Linked DNA regions of Homo sapiens: region 2 is linked to region 1. The links are contacts of gene promoters, found by promoter capture Hi-C in blood cells and fetal thymus (Javierre and others, 2016). All regions are on one chromosome and are shown on one strand. Each heading gives the region's core, a stretch centred on a gene start or on the middle of the fragment in contact. The rest is flanking DNA. Distances are from core to core; before and after follow the strand shown. Region 1 holds the start of TM4SF19 (transmembrane 4 L six family member 19). Region 2 overlaps PCYT1A (phosphate cytidylyltransferase 1A, choline).

Region 1 (3,095 bases), core at 164-2,663:
ACGAATGACAGGCGACACAATGAAACCTCTGGGGATTTGGAATGTCCTGTATCTTGATTTCTGTGCTGGTTCACCAGGGTATACATGTAAAAATTCATCAGACTTTAACATTAAGATTTGTGCACTTTAGGCTGGGCGTGCTGGCTCACACCTGTAATCCCAGCACTTTGGGAGGCGGAGGCGGGTGGATCGCCTGAGGTCGGGAGTTTGAGACCAGCCTGACCAACATGGAGAAACCGTGTTTCTACTAAAAATACAAAATTAGCCAGGCGTGGTGGCACGTGCCTGTAATCCCAGCTACTTGGGAGGCTGAGGCAGGAGAATTGCTTGAAGCCAGGAGGCAGAGGTTGCAGTGAGCTGAGATTGTGCCACTGCACTCCAGCCTGGGAACAAGAGTGAAACTCCGTCTCAAAAAAAAAAAAAAGAAAAGAAAAGATTTGTGCACTTTACTGTATATAATATCTAGATGTTTAAAATGCAATGGGAGCATAGAGAAAGAAGTACCTAACTCGGAGTAAAGAAATCCTGGCAGACTTCACTGGGAATGTTTGAACTGAATCTTGAATAGGAGCTTGTCCATAGAGGGTCACGGATCTCCCACACAGAGAGCACCACAAAATCCTCAGCAATTTGGTGAGAGTATGGTACAAGATGATAGTGGCCTGGGGCTTGAACAAGAGGCTGAGTGCGGTGGCTCACACCTGTAATCTCAGCACTTTGGGAGGCTGAGGCGAACACCTGAGGTCAGCAGTTCGAGACCAGCCTGGCCAAAATGGCAAAACCCCGTCTCTATTAAAAATACAAACATTAGCCGGGCATGGTGGCAGGTGCCTGTAATCCCAGCTACTCAGGAGGCTGAGGTGGGAGGATTGCTTGAGTGTGGGAGGCGGAGGTTGCAGTGAGCCGAGATCATGCCACTGCACTCCAGCCTGGGTGACAGAGTGAGACCCTGTCTCAAAAAAAAAAAAAAAAAAAAGTTAGACGTCTAGTACAGGAACCATGCAACACATCGAGTCAGCCAAGGGCAAGGTAAGGAGAGTGATGAGGAAAAAGGGGTGGCTGCCCTGCTCGGTGCTGTTCTGTCAAAGAGCCGAAATTCTTCGCGGGGTGGCAGATGAGGACAGGAACAGCTGGGGTGTGGCAAGTGTTGCTGCCTGGGGAGAGCGGAGGGTGAGGTGTTTCTCACGGGTGCATCCAGTGACTCATCAGGACAGCGGAGCTCATGAGGCCATGTCTCCCGTTTCCTGCCTTAGAATCACATGAAAATGAGCAGAGGGTGGGTCATCAGGACAGGGCTCTCCGGGGAGCGGAAGCGCCTTCAATGCAGGCCTGTGGGCAGGGGCGTGGGGGCGCGCACACACACACGCCTGGGTGACCTCTACGTATATACAGAGCCTCCCTGGCCCTCCTGGAAAGAGTCCTGGAAAGACAACCTTCAGGTCCAGCCCTGGAGCTGGAGGAGTGGAGCCCCACTCTGAAGACGCAGCCTTTCTCCAGGTTCTGTCTCTCCCATTCTGATTCTTGACACCAGATGCAGGTAAGCAGAGATGAAAGGGTGAGGTGACGGCCAGGGAACAGCCTAGCCTCACAGATGAGAGTGCACGCTTCCACTCCAGTGAGCCTGGCTCTGCAGCTTGGCGTCTGTGTGACTTTGCGCCATTCACTTACCTTCTCCTGTTGCCTCAGTCTGTCAACTTCTGGCCTTTGCACCTAGAATACTCTTCCTGCCTAGTATCTCATCGTCCATCAAGTTTGGGCATGGGCAGCCCTTCCTCCGGGAAGCTTCGTTTTGCTTCTGCCAGATAGGATTAGGTTCCTCCATGTGCTTCCATGACACCTTAAGTTGGATGCCCCTGCCTGGTACTTACTGTTACCAGCTGTGAATCCAGCGAGTCTGCAGCAAACTCAATCCTTGCCTTCTCGGGGGAGAGATTCGGCTGAGGGGCAGAAGTGGGTTTAAGGCAGAGGGAGAGGCTGAAGCAAGTTTGAGAGCAGGAGTGAAGGTTTATTAAAAAGTTTTTGAGCAGCAATGAAAGGAAGTAAAGTACACTTGGAAAAGGGCCAAGTGCGTGACTTGAGACACCCAAATGTGCTGTTAGACCCTTGACTTGGCGCCTGCCTGCCGCACAGGCACTTGGGAGGGGCCGCATGCGCAGTGTGTTTACTGAAGTCGTGCGCATGCTCACTTGAGGCGTTTTTCCCTTACCCGCGGAGCAGCACTAGAGGAAGGTCACACACACCAGCTAAACTCCACCATTTTGCTTCTTAGTGTAGATGCTTGAGCCCACTCGCCCAATTCCTGAGCTCTTACCAGGAAGCTGCTGATCACCAAGTTCAGGTATTTTCTATCTATTGGGAGACTGTCTTTCCCAACGCTGGCTGTGACCAATATTATTTTAGAAAGACAGTGTAACAACCGCCTGGCCATCACCTGATAGTCACCTGACATTACTGGGGTAGAGGCCCTCTCCCGCCCTGCTCATGTCTGCTCTATTTCTTACCACACTTGATTAGAATTACTTTTTGGCCAGCCTGACCCACATGGCGAAAACCCATCACTACTAAAAATACAAAATTAGCCGGGCGTGGTGCATGCCTGTAATTCCAGCTACTTGGGAGGCTGAGGCAGGAGAATAACTTGAACCCGAGAGGCGGAGGTTGCAGTGAGCCAAGAGCATGCCGCTGCACTCCAGCCTGGGCAACAAGAGCGAGACTGTGTCTCAAAAAAAAAAAAAAAAAAAAAAAAAAAGAATTGCTTTTTGCGTCAGCAGTGTCCCCACTAGACTTTAAGCTCCTCAAGGAAAGGGATTACATCTTTTTCATCGTTATATCCCTAGCCCCCCAAGTGTCTGTCAGGTAGTGATCACTTAATAAATATCCGACTGAAGGAAGAATGAAAGAAAAGCCTTGCTGGGTGGCGAGGGAGAGACACAGATGTAGAGAATGTGCGGTCTCTTCCTCCATGGAATTGAGCCGATCACTTCTGTTGTTGCCTGGACATCTAGCCGATGACGTGCTCACCTAGCTAGGACCTCAGGACAGAACAAGGAACTCCCCAGCAGCCTGGTTTTAAGGTTTTACCTTCTGATCTTGCT
Region 2 (3,095 bases), core at 574-3,073, 86 kb after region 1:
TATATACTATAACATACATTAAATCAGGGGTGTGTTTATCCTGGCCAATAGCCACTTGGTAAAAGAATGGCTAACGCTAGCTTTCTTCCCAGACTAGTTCAACAGTGACCCCTTCTGGCCGTTTGGTTAATATATCAGCCTGGGTTTGCCAAAGACTTGGGATGGAATGGTGGCCAGTTGAGATGTTGGTAGGCTGGGGAAGCACTGGAGAGAGCAAGAGGCGCATCTGGGATTGGTCTGAGAAAAGGTTCAGTGATCTACTTGGCCTAACATAGGATGATTAGCTGTGCTGCAAGCAGCCACTTGATCAACAGCATTCTGTGCTATTGCCACCATCCAGGCAATGTGTTTCTTGAGCAAAATTTCCCTGCTGTATGCTGTCTAGTAGCAAAGAAACAACAAAGTAGTCTTCATTTGTATATTCTATCCCTTGTGTTTCAGGATCGAATAGTGTGAGATCATAGCCCCTCTGGACTTGTTTAGGGAAAATGGAACTATGTTAGTTACTTCATGGACGTGACTTCTGGGATACTTCAATTTTTTTTTTTTTTGAGACAGAGTCTTGCTCTGTCTCGCAGGCTGGAGTGCAGTGGCGCGATCTCAGCTCACTGCAACCTCTGCCTCCTGGGTTCAAGAGATTCTCCTGCCTCAGCCTCCCGAGTAGCTGGGATTACAGGCGCCCACCACCATACCCAGCTAATTTTTGTATTTTTAGTAGACACAGGGTTTCACCATGTTGGCCAGGCTGGCCTCAACTGCTGACCTCAGGTGATCCACCTGCCTTGGCCTCCCAAAGTGCTGGGATTACAGGCGTGAGCCACTGTGCCCGGCCCAAAAATCTTTTTAATGTATTATTTTTTAATAGGCATAGAGCCAATGCAGTGATTTCTGGGACATAGAAGGGGGATTATATGCTCAAATTTTGTTTTATTTTGCTTTGTCTTATTAAAAATTATCTTTTTAAAAATATTTTTTTCTTCTTTTTTTTTAGTTGACACATGCTGGCAGTAAAAAATAATTTTAATAGAGATAGGGTTTCACTGTGTTGCCCAGGCTGGTCTCAGACTCCTGGGCTCAAGCAGTCCTCCTACCTTGGTCTCCCAAGGTGCTGGAATTACAGGTGTGAGCTACTGTACCCAGCCTGCTTTCTCTCATAGATGAGAAAACTGAGGCATAAGGAAGTTAAGGTTACAGAGGAAGAAAGCTGGTTGGAAAGCTTGGTCAAAGCTTGAGCTATGACCTTTCTGACTCTTAAATCCATTAATTAATTCTTAGTTTTTCATTGGATTGGTATATTTAATTTAAAATTTTTATTTCCTGTATTATAAAATCAATACAACCAGCCTGGGCTGGGCATGGTGGCTCACGCCCGTAATCCCAGAACTTCGGGAGGCCAAGGCGGGCAGATCACTTGAGGTCAGGAAATTGAGACCAGCCTGGCCAACATGGGATACGAATATAAAAATACAAAAATTATCCCGGCTTGGTGGCTTTCGCCTGTAATCCCAGTGACTTGGGAGGCTGAGGCAGGATAGTCACTTGAACCCAGGAGGCAGAGGTTGCAGTGAGCCTAGATCATGTCACCACACTCCAGCCTGGGCAACAGAGCAAGACTCCATCTCAAATAAATAAATAAATAAAAATACAACTAGCTTGGGCAACATGTGAAACCCCATCTGTACAAAAAATACAAAAATCAGCTGAGCGTAGTGGTGTGCGCTGTAGCCAGTGGGGCGTGGCGGTGTGCACTGTAGCCAGTGGGGCGTGGCGGGGTGCGCTGTAGTCTGCGGGGCGTGGCGGGGTGCGCTGTAGTCAGCGGGGCGTGGTGGTGTGCGCTGTAGTCCCAGCTTCTCGGGAGGCTGAGGCGGGAGGATCATTTGAGCCTGGGAGGTGGAGGTTTCAGTGATCTGAGACCATGCCACTGCACTCCAGCCAGGGTGACAGAGCCAGACCCTGTCTCAAAAAATCAAATCAAGTGAAATCAATACATTCCCACAGTTTAATATCCATAAAATACAAAAAGGGCATAAAGTAAAATGTCTCCCTCTCAAGACCTGTCTCACAGCCACCTGGTATCCCTATAACAGGCCACCAATATTACCCATTTCTGTGAATATCTAAGTAAATTGTTTATATATCCTCCCACCTTTTAGTGGGTGTATTATGCTATATTCAATCTTCCGTTGAAATGTAGGTCGTTTCCTGACTGTTGCTATTATAAACAGTACTGCAATGAATAACATCTATATTTACTGTGAGATAATTCCCAGAATTAGAAAAGCTGGGCCACAGCTATAAGCATTTGTCGTTTGTCTTTTGATAGATACGACCTAATTGCCCTTCTTGAAAGTTGCTGATACTCCTTTCAGCAGTGTATGATTTCTTGGTTTAAAATCTACTTATTTATGAGTAAAGCTTTTTGAAAACAAAAATTCATAAACCTCCTGAGAACTACTTTCCTTCTCCTTCATTCATTGCCCTGAAGACAGGAAGGAGATGTATCTGATCCTCAACCTCAGCATGGTGTATCTGATCCTCAGCCTCAGCATAGTGTATCTGGTCCTCAGCCTCAGCATAGTGTATCTGATCCTCAACCTCAGCATGGTGTATCTGGTCCTCAACCTCAGCATGGTGTATCTGGTCCTCAGCCTCAGCATGGTGTATCTGGTCCTCAGCCTCAGCATGGTGTATCTGGTCCTCAGCCTCAGCATGGTGTATGTGATCCTCAGCCTCAGCATGGTGTATCTGGTCCTCAGCCTCAGCATGGTGTATCTGATCCTCAGCCTCAGCATGGTGTATCTGGTCCTCAGCCTCAGCATGGTGTATCTGGTCCTCAGCCTCAGCATGGTGTATCTGGTCCTCAGCCTCAGCATGGTGTATCTGGTCCTCAGCCTCAGCATAGGGTATCTGGTCCTCAACCTCAGCATAGTGTATCTGATCCTCAGCATAGTGTATCTGGTCCTCAGCCTCAGCATGGTGTATCTGGTCCTCAGCCTCAGCATAGTGTATCTGATCCTCAACCTCAGCATGGTGTATCTGATCCTCAGCATAGTGTATCTGGTCCTCAACCTCAGCATAGTGTATCTGATCCTCAG

What was found. The method cuts DNA at HindIII sites, captures the fragments that hold promoters and counts their contacts. A CHiCAGO score of 5 or more calls a contact.
Region 2: a fragment that was not itself captured here is called in contact with the fragment with the promoter of TM4SF19 in region 1 in 1 of 17 cell types (erythroblasts); the score reaches 5.3 in erythroblasts.

The regions. Positions count from the first base shown.
Region 1 is chr3:196,336,706-196,339,800 of GRCh38, reverse strand. It overlaps TM4SF19 (transmembrane 4 L six family member 19), which reads left to right and starts at 1,413. Exons shown (of 5, transcript NM_138461.4): 1 at 1,413-1,537. It overlaps TM4SF19-DYNLT2B (TM4SF19-DYNLT2B readthrough (NMD candidate)), which reads left to right and starts at 1,381. Exons shown (of 6, transcript NR_037950.1): 1 at 1,381-1,537. RefSeq lists a silencer at 1,109-1,280 and enhancers at 1,029-1,323, 690-1,889. The HindIII fragment of the contact is 5,119 bases long and covers 1-1,784 here.
Region 2 is chr3:196,250,793-196,253,887 of GRCh38, reverse strand. All of the region lies in intron 3 of PCYT1A (phosphate cytidylyltransferase 1A, choline), which reads left to right. Among named protein-coding and RNA genes, the nearest start is that of PCYT1A, 35 kb to the left of the region's middle. The HindIII fragment of the contact is 1,188 bases long and covers 1,230-2,417 here.